2 separate regions of the Homo sapiens genome follow, and region 2 is linked to region 1. Evidence: promoter capture Hi-C in 16 types of primary human blood cells and fetal thymus (Javierre and others, 2016). All regions are on one chromosome and are shown on one strand. Each heading gives the region's core, a stretch centred on a gene start or on the middle of the fragment in contact. The rest is flanking DNA. Distances are from core to core; before and after follow the strand shown. Region 1 holds the start of DNAJB14 (DnaJ heat shock protein family (Hsp40) member B14). Region 2 holds the start of TET2 (tet methylcytosine dioxygenase 2).

Region 1 (7,223 bases), core at 2,505-5,004:
AGGGCGGGTGGCAGCCATTGGTGGGATGAGCAATCCGAGTTCCCGGATGAGGGAACATTCTGCAGTATAAAGGGAGCAGGGAAGGCGGGAGACAGCGCAGTTTGAATCGCGGTGCGACGAAGGAGTAGGTGGTGGGATCTCACCGTGGGTCCGATTAGCCTTTTCTCTGCCTTGCTTGCTTGAGCTTCAGCGGAATTCGAAATGGTAAACTTCGCAGAGACGCTCGATGACTCCGCGGGTTTTTGCCGGCGAGAGAAAAACCCGTTACACAGAGGGATGGGGGTGAAGTGGCGACGGTTGGGAACGCGCGGAGACAGGATTTAGAAGAGTGGGGGGAGGTGTTTTGTCGGCTGCTAGCGGAGCAGCCTCGGATCTCGCGGCGGGCGGCGACGGTTGGGTGGCGCGCGCAGCGCCGCTGGGGGCCGGCGGGCGGAGGCGCGCGGCCGTGGCGAGCGCGCGGCGGGGGGCGAACGGGCGGGGTCGCCCCTGCGGCGCGCCGCGGGCCGGAGACCCCGGCAGGGTGCGGGGACGCGCTCGCGGCGGGACGCGCCGCGGTGGGGGATGGGCGCGCCGCCTTGGTAATTCTATATTCTCCGTTCCTCCTCCGCTCGCGGGCGTGTGCGCGCCGCAGGCTGGCGGTAAGGCTGGAAAGGACTCCGGAAAGGCCAAGACAAAGGCGGTTTCCCGCTCGCAGAGAGCCGGCTTGCAGGTCAGTAGTTGTTCGTGCAGTCTGGGAGTCATGATGTTTTTCTTTGCATTTCCTTTTTTGTTATTCATCGCTCTCGATGGGCGTTTTGTGTATGCGTGGGTGATGCGGTGTCGCGACTTGGGCTGCCCATACGATAAATATGGGGGGGAGGAATCACGTGTTTCGATGTCGGGACGCGTTGCTGCGCCCGTGCCCCTTGCTTTGGCGCGCATATAATTTCCCCATCTCTAGTTCTCATTTTTGTGCATTTATGTTTGTGTATGCTTAAAATTTAAGTTCCCAGTGGGCCGTATTCATCGACACCTAAAATCTAGGACGACCAGTCATGGACGTGTGGGCGCGACTGCCGCTGTGTACAGCGCAGCCATCCTGGAGTACCTCACCGCAGAGGTAAATGGGTGAACGCCTATAATCCGGAGAAGGTTTGGGGGGCGGGGAGGCGGCAAGAGGGAAGGAGGAAAGTGATGCAAGAAAACTCCCAGGCCCTGAACGCGGCGAGAGGCCTAAGAGAACGCTAGAGGGAGCTGGTGTTCAACAAGGATCCTACTGAGCTTGAGTTCTCTGCTCTTGGAATTAAAATTGCGTGCCCCCTGTATATCTTGCCAGTCAGATAGTGAGGAACGATTCCAGTTGGTAGATCTGCGTTTGTGAGGGTTTTATTCTGTTCTCTGAATCTTGGCCAAAGGAAAGTTGGAAGGCAACTGACAGATTCTGCCTTTTAGGTACTTGAACTGGCAGGAAATGCATCAAAAGACTTAAAGGTAAAGCGTATTACCCCTCGTCACTTGCAACTTGCTATTCGTGGAGATGAAGAATTGGATTCTCTCATCAAGGCTACAATTGCTGGTGGTGGTATGTTAACTTCTAACATTTTAAAAAATTTCTTCAGAGGAAGGAATTTTTTGCTGCTTTTAATTAGTTTTTCCAGGAGAGGAAATTTAAGTATATTTTCAATGATGGAAGTATGGTTGTATCATGAAATTTGATTTATATGTATAACTCAATGAATTTTTACTTCATACTTGAGCTGCATGTTTTTAAAGATACCTTTCAAGTTGAACAGTATACACTTTCTTGGTTTCAAATACTGTGATTTTTTAAAAAATCTTAAGTAGAATTAATTCCTGTCACTCTCCTAGGTGTCATTCCACACATCCACAAATCTCTGATTGGGAAGAAAGGACAACAGAAGACTGTCTAAAGGATGCCTGGATTCCTTGTTATCTCAGGACTCTAAATACTCTAACAGCTGTCCAGTGTTGGTGATTCCAGTGGACTGTATCTCTGTGAAAAACACAATTTTGCCTTTTTGTAATTCTATTTGAGCAAGTTGGAAGTTTAATTAGCTTTCCAACCAACCAAATTTCTGCATTCGAGTCTTAACCATATTTAAGTGTTACTGTGGCTTCAAAGAAGCTATTGATTCTGAAGTAGTGGGTTTTGATTGAGTTGACTGTTTTTAAAAAACTGTTTGGATTTTAATTGTGATGCAGAAGTTATAGTAACAAACATTTGGTTTTGTACAGACATTATTTCCACTCTGGTGGATAAGTTCAATAAAGGTCATATCCCAAACTAGTTGTGTATTAAATTTGCTTGGTTGTAATAGGAACTTGTTTTGAGTATCTCATCTAGCAGCAATAACTAAGCACATTTCTTTGTGACTGAACTGTCAAATCTGTAGATCAACAAAGTGAGATAGCCCAAGTATATTTTTTTAATGTTATATGAGCTACTAAAGTTTTAATTTAAAAAGTTGGCAGGAGCTGGAGTGGGATTGTCAGTTTCTTAGGCTAAGTGTGACCATTTCAGTTTGTACATTGGCTTCGCTTGCTGTGTGACAGCACTGCACTAGTATGCTGTTAGCATGGTGGACTTGGGGAGGGAGAGAATAGGTAGGAATGTCCTGTATATCCACAGAATGAACTCCGAATTTAAACTTTAAAGATAATAGTGCTACGTGCCAGGCCCTGCTTTGAAGTCTGAAGTTGTTAAGTACTCAGTAACATCATTGGGGATATACTATCTCCATTTTATCGAAGAGAAGCAGGGTTTCTTATTTGAAAGTACCGAGTTATGGTAGTTAGCAGAATTAACAGCTTGGCTCACAGCATTATGTAAAAATTGTTACCTTGTGGTTGGGTTGAGCAGGTCATTTTGACAGTTTGTCATGTTTTTTTTTAAAAAATTTGCACATAGCAAACATTCCCCCCACCCCCACCGCGAAGACTAACAAGACACGGTACTTCCAAGTGGTAATGTTATCCAAATGGGACGGAAAAGGTGAAATCAAAAGTTTGCTTTCGTTAGGGCAGCCCCTGAGGGGCTGATTCCTGCCTTGTTTTGGCTACACAGGATTAAGGTCGATCTGCACCACTCGTTGCAAGCTACAAATTAAACTGCTTTGTACTTTGGATAGCCAGACATCCGGGTCAGAAAAAATGTAGCTGAAATAAGGCTGCCATACAAGCCCTAAGATTAGGTTCAAACGACGCTCTAACGTGTCCCGGAAGTGCTGAGACTGGACTGACACCTTGGTCCTCACCTGACCGCATCCTCCCTCGCTTGAGGGGCCCAGAGGCGGAACCTCCAAGTCCTGGCAATTTTACTGAAAACGAGTGTCCCCTTCCCGGACCCTGTCCTCCTGGCCTGAGCTGCGAGGGCCTCGCCTGGAGGTCACAGGGCACGGCGCTACCAATGCCGGCAATCGGGTCCCGGGCGGAACCCCTCCCCGCGATGGGCAGCCCGGCTGCTATCGTCCGCCTCCCGGGCAGGTCCGCTTCGAGCCTGCTGGCGCCGTGCGCGGACCACCGAGTCAGCTCGGACGCCCCGGCCCAGGAGGTTGGTCCTGGGCCGGGACGGATGCGGATCGCGCCCTAGGGGCCCGCGGGGGGCGGGGAGGCCGCCGTGAGGAGGCGGAGCTGCGAGGCCCGCCCGTCCGCCCGGGCCGTCGCAGCCGCTGCCGCGGTCCCCTGCGCTCCTCCCCGCTGCCGCCGCACGCCCCCAGCCGGTCCCGCCTCGCCTCCTCCGCGGCGGCGGCTTCCGCCCTTCTTAGCTGCGCTGCCGGAGGAAACGGAAGAAGGAGCAAGCTATGGAGGGGAACAGGGATGAGGCTGAGAAATGTGTCGAGATCGCCCGGGAGGCCCTGAACGCCGGCAACCGCGAGAAGGCCCAGCGCTTCCTGCAGAAGGCCGAGAAGCTCTACCCACTGCCCTCGGCCCGCGGTGAGACCTCAGCGTCCCTTCTCTTCCTGCCCAATCCCCAGACCACCGCGTAGCCCGCCCCTGCCCCCACCTCGGCCCCTCCTGGAGGCCTGCGGGGCCCCCGGCCTGTCTGAGCCAGCCCCAGCCCCAGGCCCGGTGGGGAGCATCCCGACACACCCCCGCCCTGGCCCCAGCCCCGGCTCCGGGCTGGGGCTCGGGGAATGCTGCGCGAGGTTCCTCTGCACCCGCCTGCCCGCCGGCTCCGCGTTCCGCTGTCCTAAATGTCCGGGTTTCATTCTCCCTGGAGGAGACTTGTCTGGTCCCGTCTTACCACAGTGAGGCTTTATTTGTATCTGTGTTGTTTATGTGGCCCCCTCCCTCCCCATTCTCAGTCCTACATAAGGCCTAGGCCCCTATCGAAGTGAGAGGAATGGTGTACTCTAGTGGCTAATCTCAGATTCCATGTTTCTGAGATCTGTAGAAAACTGTTCCCAAAGCAAACATCGAATACCTGAGATGACATTGCTTTTCCCTGGGAGAGAGTTCCTTTAAAAGAGAAGAGCACACTTTCGGCAAGAATGGTCAAGAGTCAGTAATGATTGCTGAAGAGTATCTGATTTGATAACACCATGATTATCGACGAACCAAATCTCTGAGGAATATGGTACTGGGTTTCCTTTAGTTGAAGTCAGCTTATTTATTTTCCTACTCGATAGGCTTCGGAGTAATAATAGCCAACATTTATTGAGCACAAAGTGCCAATAGTTGTGCCCAACATTTTGCATGGATTATTTCATTTATTCCTCAGAACAATTCTGTGTAGAGGTGCAGGATTCATTTGACCAGGTTTACCCACGTGGAAACAGACTTTCTGATAATTAATGAATGAATTAGCGAATGAATGAAAGTATCTTACCCAAGGTCACACAACAATTAGTAGCAAAGTCAGAATAGTAGCTGAACTTTCAGACTCGAAAAGGCCTTTAACCGCTACACTGTTGCCTTGCCATTAGTATTTCCAGGTTAAGAAGAAAGTTATCGATAGATTCAATTAATTGTAGAAAATTATTAATGAAAATATGGGGCCACTTGTTTTGTTGTCTCTTAAATTTTTTTCTCTACGTCGTTGAAGCCCTGTGCTCTTTGCTTTTCTCTCTATCCTTTCCATTACATTGCCTTCTAACACTATACCCATGAGGACAGGAAAATAAAATGAAAGAAAAGAGTTAATAATTTTTTAAGTTGTGGTTTAAAAACCTGCCAAATTTACGGTCTTAACTATTTTTAAGTGTGCAGTCCATTAGTGAAGTATATTGACATTGTTGTGCAAGGACTCTTCAGAACTTTTTCATCTTACAACACAACTGTGTACTAATCAGACAGCTCCCTACCGCCCCGTCTCCTAAGACCCTGGCAACTACCATTCTACTTTGTGTTTCTGTGAATTTAACTACTTTAGTTACCTCAGATAGGTAGATTCATGCAGTATCTTTTTGTGACTGTCTTACTTCACTTAGCATAATGTTCCCAAGTTTCATTTATGTTGTAACGTGAAGAATTCCTCTTTAAAAAAATACTGATTAGGCTGGGCGCGGTGGCTCACGCCTGTTATCCCAGCACTTTGGGAGGCCGAGGCGGGCGGATCATTTGAGGTGAGGAGTTCGAGACCAGCCTGGCCAACATGATGAAACGCCATCTCTACTAAAAATACAAAAAAATTAGCCAGGCGTGGTGGTGCATGCCTGTAATCCCAGCTACTAGGGGATGCTGAGGCAGGAGAATCGCTTGAACTCGGGAGATGGAGGTTACAGTGAGTCGAGATGGCAACACTGCACTCCAGCCTGGGCGACACAGCGAGACTCCATCTCAAAAAAACAAAAAAAAAAAGACCAAAAAAAAGCTACAGTAAAAAAACTGAATAATATTCCATTGTATATATACACCACATTTTGTTAATCCATTCATCTGTCTATGGACATTTGGGTTCCTTTCACCTCTTGGCTATTATGAATAATGCTGCTATGAACAAGGATATGCAAAGAGCCTGCTTTCAATTATTTTGGATACCAAGAAGTGGGATTGTAGGATCATACAGTAATTCTATTTTTAATTTTTGAGGAACCACAATACAGTTTCTGTAGCGCCTGCACCATTTTACTTTCCCACGAACAGTACATAGGGTTTCAGTTTCTCACCATCCTTGCCAACACCTATTTTCTGTTTTTGTTGGTTTTGATAGTACCCATCCTTGAGTGGGAGGTGATATCTCATTGTGGCTTTGATTTGCATTTCTCTGATGATTAGTGATGTTGAGCATCTTTTCATATGCTTATTGGCTAGTTTTATAATATCCCATTTTTGGAGAAAATGTCTGTTCAAGTCCTTTGCCCATTTTTAAATCACATTACTTGTTTTTTTTTTGTTGAGTTGTAGGAGTTCCTTATTTATTCTGGATATTAACCCCTTATCAGATATGTGATTTGCAGATGTTTTCTCCTATTTATATGTTGCCTTTTCATCACTTTGTTGATGGTGCTATTTGATGCACATAAGTTTTTAAGTTTGTTGTAGTGCCATTTTTCTATTTTTGCTTTGTTTTTTTGTGCTTTTGCTGTCATATTCAAGAAATCATTGCCAGGAGTTAATTATTTTTGAATCCTCCCCTACTGTTGAATATGATTTCATTTAGTCATTATCTAGTCCTAGAGGGACAGTTTTAACATTAAGTGAGTAGGCAGTCTAGACAGAATAACTTGGCTTTTGAAGTCTGACTCCACCTACTAGCTTGTAACCTTATTTTTGAGCAGGGTAGAGAACCTCTCTAGCCTTTAGCTTTTTCGTCTGTAAAATGGAGACAATGTACTGATCTCATAGTGCTGTTGTGAGGATTAAATGGGTTAATACAGGTAAAGCATTTAACAGTAAGCACTCAATTAATTTTGGTGTCATCCCCATTTTACAAGTGTGAAGCTCTGAGAATTCTTAAAACCCACCCAAATGTACACACTATCATGCTTCTGTCATGCAAACAATTTGAATAAATCTCCTAAAAGATATTATAAGATACCAAAGCACAACACAGTTTGTTGCTCTTAAGGACATGAATGTTGGAAAAATTAAGAAATGTAAGGGTGAAAGTTGGTAGTACAAATGTAAGGCAGTATGTGATTACCAAATAAAGTGATAGGGGATAACTGTGTAGTCCAAAAACCTTAGTTCAGATGCAGATGTTTTCTCTGACTCCTTTTTCACCAGTGACAAATTACTTAACTCCTCTGAGCCTTCTTTAGTTATATGTAAAGTGAAGATGT
Region 2 (7,223 bases), core at 2,666-5,165, 5.2 Mb before region 1:
CTTCAATAATGTCACAGTATTCACTCAGTTTTGGCAGTGAGTAGAAATAGAAATTGGAGATCTAGACCAAGTAAATACTGTATATTTGGCAAAATCATTTGTGGTTGTGTTCTTCAGCACAGTTTCCCAGATAACCACCAGCTCTACTTGGCAACTGGTCTTTCCCACAGTGAAGGCTCCAATTGTAAAGTTGGCTTGGGAGATATTCTATTGCTGCTGGCTTTGGTACCATTACTATCCTTAAGAACTACTGTGCAATGGTAGAATAATCATTGACAAAGTGTTATTCTGATGAACAAATACTGACAGCTGGTCCAAAGTTTTAGCCTGTTCCCAAGGTAGGAAACAATAACATTAAAACAGTCTACATGGTTATTTATATAACAAAGATGACTCTTTCCAGCGATTTGAAATTGCTAGATAAGACTATGAAATTCTATTAAAACAATAACAACAAAAACAATTTAACTTGCATTAGAAGCAATTAAAGCATAAAAAGTAGATCTAAGATTTTCTAAATATTAGATATTCTAAAATATTGACATTATACAATGTCTAGCATCCGTAACTTTTGAAGATATTTTATTTCAAGGTAATTTCATAAGAATTCATAAGAATTTACCTACTCAGACTTTGGGCAGGATGGAAAATAGAGTTTCTGTGAGGTGTGCCTATGAATCATAAGAAGGGCTTCTTAATGAGGTCAGTAATTAAGGAAATACATTTCAATAGTGACATTTGACTTACAACATTGTTTGGGGGTGGAGTCTTAGAAGAATTGATAGGGAACTTTTAACTTCAACAAGTGAAACTAAAACATTAACTCCAGTTGTTGTTACCTAATACAAGACCAGTGCCCAATAAGGACTTTGGAATTCTTTCATAACAACTCCTTGGCAGGTGCACTTCACTTGTTCTGGAAGTGATATTCACTTGCCAATGTCTAGTAGGACCATGTGCCACTGCCTCAAAATCATATCAATTCCTCCGGCTTCTGGCATAAACTGGCACATCAGACCTAATTAAAGCCTTAAGAAGAGTTTGGCAAATATGACAATTTAAACAAAGCAAGGGATTTCTCTCACTGCAACTTAATTTCTCATTGATGATTAGTTCAATAAGAAAATAAGCAAAACAATGTCATAGTTAAGAAAAGCTATCTATCTTGTTATTGTCCATTATCATGTTCCTAAAATTCAATAACCCAAGACAGTCCTATGGAATTTTTGGAGCACCTAGGTAGTATGATCACATATATGGTAAAGAAAGAACTGAGGTTATGTCTTTTATTGTAAACTACCCCATACTTATTAAAATAATTTCTCTTTTCCAACAAAGGATAAAGTGACTAACATACACATCTCTTCCTTATAATCACTGAAATACTTTATACAGTATTAATTAGCAGCTATTTTCAGTATAAAAGTAGGATGCACAAAATAACAAGAATCTAAATTTGATGACAGGAAAAAACAAGCCTTCATAGTTGTATTCAAAATTATTAACCAATGTAGTTATTCTTATTTATTGAGTGGAAAATGTTGTATCTATTATTAGTTGAGTAGCCTGAAGACAGTATATACCACAACATTTGAAAAGTTGTCCCCAAAAAGTAAATATTAGTTTGTTAGCAAAAGGAATTGTTTTTAATTCTGAATTGCTGGAATAATTAACCATAGTTTTCTCGATAGTTTACCATGAACAGCATTAATGGTAAAATCCTAATTTTTGTTTTAATTTTAGGGCAAATAAGAACTAACCAATGAACCGTTTCTATTCCACAGAGATGAGTAATGCTTCTCCCTTGTAATCATGTGAAAGAACCCCACGTATCAATGATTAAAGCAAACTACATTAAATTAACAAAGATCAAAATAGAAAGTTACAAAGTGAACTATCGAGGACAAATAGTTTTGGAAATTCGACTTATGGAGAAATATCTATTATTGTGTTTTTCCTTCTATCCATTTTTTAATCCTATAAATTGTCTTCTAAACTTCAGTTTGATTATCCAACACTTCATTAACCGTTCTCTGCTTATTAACATTTAAAAAAATCAATATTTATTGTGTTTAAATTTATATTCTATTCCAAACATTATTAAGCACACATACAAACATGTAAAAGAACATAACTCCCCTTAGTATTTCAACTTTCCATTAAAATGCAAATGTAATGATTTCATTAGCCAGGCAACAATACCCACAGTATCACACCAAACCAAACCAATGTCTTTTCTCTGTGAATCCCAACTTCCCTTAAGATACAATCTTATTCCTATGATGGATCATTTGTTGATGAATATCTTTGAATTTGGGTTTCCCATTATAATCCCTGACTGAAGGGGAAAAAGCACAATGTGTGATTTGAGATATTAAATTCATGAATGTATTCCACTCCCTAGACACGTAAATATATAAATATTTCACTAAATTTTATGCACTAAATTTTACCGCTGGAAAATAAGCCTTTTCTCAATTCTTAAACATTAGATGAAGAAGGGAGAACTCCCTCAATGTAATTAAAAGTATATCATGAGGGGAATAACCAGCAAATAACACTTATATTTCATTTTCGGCCTTTCCAGGAGTCTATCCAGGCCACACTTCATTATGTCATAGGTAGAAAACTCTCCATACAAACCCTATTAGCTTAATAAAACTAGACAAGCAGTCCCAGTGAAAAGATTCAGCAAGATGCGAGTGAGGTGTGTGTGTGTGTGTGTGTGTGTATGTGTATGAGAGAGAGAGAAGAAAGAGTAGAGAGGAGACACAGAGAGAAAGGCAGAGAGATGAAAGACCAAAGAGAGAAGCCAAAGAGAAATTTGGATGGGACTGTTATAAATCTGCTCTTCACTTCTTTGCTGGGATTGGGTTTCATTTCTTTAGGCGCCCCTGACCTTGCAGTCTTGCAACTCCAACGCTGCGCTCCCCACCCCCTCCCGCCCCCTCCCCGGGCCTGCGCCTGCCTTTGTGTCTGCCTGTCACTTACCAAGGAACCAAACGAAGCTGATTCGGGAGAAGCACAAAGCCGGGACACAGATTTGTCCATAAATTCTCTTACATACATTCCCCAGGCTGGAAGGCTCAGCCCAGCGCTGACTTATGTACCTTGAGAAAAGTGAGTTCTGGTCTTGTTTGGGGAACCAGAGAAACTATTCTTTCCTCTTTCACTCAGCGCCGCTAACAAAACGCGCGGACTTAAGGAAAAAAAAAACCCACTCAGTGTACTCCAATTCCACTCCCTGTGACATTCACTTCGTACAGCCCCCTAAAGGGGGATAAGAAGGTAGGAGGAGGCAGACACAAACCCAGACCCAGACCCTACAGCTGATAAAAGGGTCGAAAAACACCCTATCAGTGTTCTCTCTGAGGTTGTTCAGGATAAACGGGAGACTCGTTTCACTTACACGAAAGAAACAGGGGAAGAGGATTAAAGGGAAAAGTAGTGCCCCCAAAGCTGAACTATTTTAGAAAGGAAAGCAAATTTAAAAATCACTTTTCTGAGGATTAAAAAAGGCCGGGAAACCGGCTCGTCGGAGGCACAAAGGTAAGTTTTCTGGGAGATGAGGGGACGAGCATTAGGAGGAGAGAAGAGAACACAGAACTACAGGTTTAAAAGGGGTAGAGGGAATTAAAACTATATTTGTCAGCCATGTTGAAGAGGCTCCAGTAATTTGTGAAGCTTCCCTCTTCCCTCTTGGTATTTGTGGGTGACACTACAGGGTTTGCTCCCCAGTCCCTGGAAGCCCGAGAAAAAGCGAAGGGGAGAAGAAAGGGAGAGTTTCGCGGCATAAGAGAAGCGCTCTGACCTCGTTCTCGTCCCTCAGCCTTGCAGCAATCCAGCAGTTGCAGTCGGGTCTCCTTTCTAACAAATCCTAAAGGGCAGCCATCTTGCTTCCTTCTGCTTCTCTACGAAAGCAGCCTAGCCTCCGCATCAATATTCATAAGGCAGTTTGACGTCTGTTCTCATCACTCAGCGGGGCCGGCGTCTCGGGGCGGCCGCGCCGAGGGGGCGGACGTGACTTGCATGCGAGCGGGACCCGGGCGCGCGGCGCTCGCGAGGAGGCGGCGGCGGCCGCCCAAGCTCTCGCCGCTGCCACTGCCGCTACCGCCGGCTCTCCTCCTCCGCCCGGGCCTCCTCCTGCTCCGCCCCGGCCTCCTCCCGCTCCGCCCCGGCCTGCGCCGCCGCCCTGGGGCCCTCAGCCCCGGCTCCCAGGGAATTAGCCCCCCGCACCGGGCGTCCAGCACAAAGGCCGGCGGCACCTGGGGCCGTACAGCGGGGCGCGCAGTGGAGACCTGGGCTGCCCTCACGCCGTGCAGTGGCGCGGGGGGAGTGGTGCGCCCGGACCAGCGCGGAGTAGGGGCCAGGGCTGGCGAGCGCGGGGAAGGGTGCAGCCCTCGGGAACCCCGGGGACCTCGGCGGGTCTCCACCCCTGGGAGAAGAAGCAGAGCAAGCGCGAAGGTTGGGGGCGAGGTGGGAGGTTGGGATGGCACGGGTGCCTGGACAAAGACGTGACATCTAAGATTTCCCTTTGAAACTTTTTGCTGGTCTGCACTCCACCACCACTTCGAGGTCCCGCGCACACGCCCCCGCGCGCACCCACCTCCTCCGGAGTGTACCCGCACGTGCCCTCGCTCTGGCCCCCGCCTCCACCCACTGGCACCTCTCCCCGCACCACACCTCCGCTTGCGCCCACCTTACCCTCAGAGGCCCGCGTCTCTATCTCCCTTTAGATCCCGTTGCCCGCGCTCTCCTTTCCCTTTTCTGTCGCTTTAATCTCATTCAGCAGAAGCGCTCCCCTGTTTCACCGAGGGCATGCCCTTAGTGCTTTAGGGGCCTGTATTTTTAAAGACCCGACAAACTGGGAAATTGACCGAGTTCTGTTTCTCCCCGCCCCGGCCCACCTTCTGTTTACTTTAGCCACGTGGGCTGAGTAGAAGGGGGCGTCTCACAGATTGAAATAGGTTTCTCACTAGTGACCCCCTACTTCTCGCTAGGAGGAAATAAACCTGCACTTTCAAATGCTTAAGTTGCCTCTCGTAAGAGCCCTTACTTTGAAGTAGTTTCCCCCCGTACAATTAAGTAATGAAGAAACCGACCGATACAGAGCTAATTCCGAATGACGGATGCTTGATTTTCCCTGACATTCGGAGCTCTGTAACTATGCTCTTCCTTTGACCGGAGTTTTTCTCTATTGCCGAGTAGTGTTACTTCCCCCTTCTAATGCTCCTTTTTCTAATCATCAACTTTTTATTTGAAGATGAGATGAAGAACAAAGCCCATATGAGTCATAGTAAGTATCATATTACGTCAGATAGTCGTTTTTGAAATATTCCCTTCATCTTTTACATGTTCTTACATGACTGACGTTCAAATTTTAAGTGGGTATTTTGGTCACATCTTTTATGGGATCACTGCATGGTGATCACAGTACCCTTAAGTCAATACTAGTTATATTGTGTAACCACACTTTTTTTGGTCTGTAATTTTTTTTAAAAGCGAAGCCCTAATTTTACGAAATCGGAATATTTCCTCTTTGAAGAGTGTGAAAAAGGGAACTCCTTGCAAGTGTCGCATTGTTGCTAAGAAGAATGTTTAGTGGGTCCAATCAAACTTTGTTTATTCCATTTTGAAACAAAGTTGACTCAGATTTCAGATTTTGCACAAACTAAGGAAATAGTACATTTTCCCTTAAACATTTCAGGTGGGAATGACATTCCATGTTTTCTAGCTGTACACTAAAGCGTCACTTAGGTCTTGGAAATTGTTAATGCACTTTAAAATCTAAGCTGTTTGAAAGTTCTTTGTGATCTTTATTTCTTTCTTTCTTTTCTTTCCTTTTCTTTCTTTCTTGAGACAGCCTCTCTCTGTCACCCAGGCTGGAGTGCAGTGGCGCGATCTCGGCTCACTGCAACCTCGGCCTTCCGGGTTCAAGCGATTCTTCTGCCTCAGCCTCCGGAGTAGCTGGGACTACAGGCGTGCGCCACCACGCCCAGCTATTTTTTGTATTTTTAATAGAGACGGGGTTTCACCATATTGGCCAGGCTGGTCTGGAACTCCTGACCTCCCAGAGTGCTGGGATTACAGGCGTGAGCCACCGCGCCCGGCTTGTGATGTATTTTTCAAGTCCAGGAAATAAAGTTCTCTCAAGACCACAACATACATTTATACAGTGCACAGTATTGCAGAGTTGTTGAAACATGGGCTTTGGAGTTTTACAGAGCTGAGTGACTCTTAACTCTATCTTTTCCAGTGTGACCTTGTGCATTTTACTTAACTCTCTCGGTATCGGTTTCTTTCAATCTGTTCAACAACCTGTAAGACAGCAGAGTTGTGGTGAGTTTTTAATAAGAGCACTAGGTAAGTGCCCAGGTAGTTACTACTACTACAGTAACAAACCATTTACTTCTAGGAGTTATTTTGTTTCTGACTATAGAAGTATATAATTATATATCTTCTTACATTTAATAATATGTGGAAAATATTATATTAGCATGTGTTTAATATAAAAGTATCCGTAGGTTCCTTTAGTTATAACTGGGAAATGATCTTTCAGGTCACCTCCCTCTCATTTCTTCTTTGAAAACTGCTCTCTGTTGTAACAGGGTGTTCTTACCTATTTGGAATCATGTTTGGGTTGCAGTTGGTTTTACAACAGGCCCTGAACATTTTCTTGCCAACTTCTTTCTCTGCACCTCCACTCTACCCTTAACCATCATGACTTTTTAAAAGTTAAAATAAAATACATTACTCCTCTTGGCTATTGTGATTTTTCAACAGCAAAAGGAAGTAAAATTCTGCAGGCCTTCACGTATAAAATATTTTAGTTAGATTTTTTTTTTGATTTGAAAAACTTCCTCCTGCTATTTCTGGGAAAGAAAGGATATAGTTTGCAAATCAGTTGTTTACTGAACGCAGTGCGCACTTGTATGGGTAATTCAGAACCAGCTTTTATTAATTGTGTGCATTCTTGAGATTCCTCCTCCTACAGGTGTGGACAATCTGTGTTTAAAATATAATTTGCTGTTTTAACAACAATTAATTATCAAATTCTTTACCATTTTTTTCCTCAAACTAGAAATAGCAGCACTGCTTCCATACAGAGAGATCCTTGCTTCCTTAACAGAGAAAAAAGACTAATAGAACAAGTTCCACAACATGCTACTCTGTGTTAGAAAATTGACTTGATTGGCCTGCGCACCTGCTATCTAACTCAGTTG

Evidence for each region. The method cuts DNA at HindIII sites, captures the fragments that hold promoters and counts their contacts. A CHiCAGO score of 5 or more calls a contact.
Region 2: a contact is called between the fragment with the promoter of TET2 here and the fragment with the promoter of DNAJB14 in region 1, in 1 of 17 cell types (neutrophils). The highest score is 5.5, in neutrophils.

The regions. Positions count from the first base shown.
Region 1 is chr4:99,943,149-99,950,371 of GRCh38, reverse strand. DNAJB14 (DnaJ heat shock protein family (Hsp40) member B14) reads left to right here and starts at 3,754. Exons shown (of 8, transcript NM_001031723.4): 1 at 3,754-3,933. The coding sequence starts at 3,801. H2AZ1 (H2A.Z variant histone 1) reads left to right here and starts at 97. Exons shown (of 5, transcript NM_002106.4): 1 at 97-204; 2 at 632-709; 3 at 986-1,099; 4 at 1,432-1,561; 5 at 1,849-2,284. The coding sequence starts at 202. The coding sequence ends at 1,910. RefSeq lists enhancers at 1-232, 177-266, 1,307-1,356, 838-1,443, 4,321-4,370 and silencers at 467-516, 597-686, 3,491-4,150. The HindIII fragment of the contact is 11,087 bases long and covers 1-7,223 here.
Region 2 is chr4:105,143,568-105,150,790 of GRCh38, reverse strand. TET2 (tet methylcytosine dioxygenase 2) reads right to left here and starts at 3,915. Exons shown (of 11, transcript NM_001127208.3): 1 at 3,812-3,915. LOC124900868 reads left to right here. Exons shown (of 3, transcript XM_047416559.1): 2 at 3,830-5,296. The coding sequence ends at 4,518. RefSeq lists silencers at 2,941-3,010, 3,974-4,653 and enhancers at 3,341-3,390, 3,734-3,903, 7,048-7,223. The HindIII fragment of the contact is 4,110 bases long and covers 3,687-7,223 here.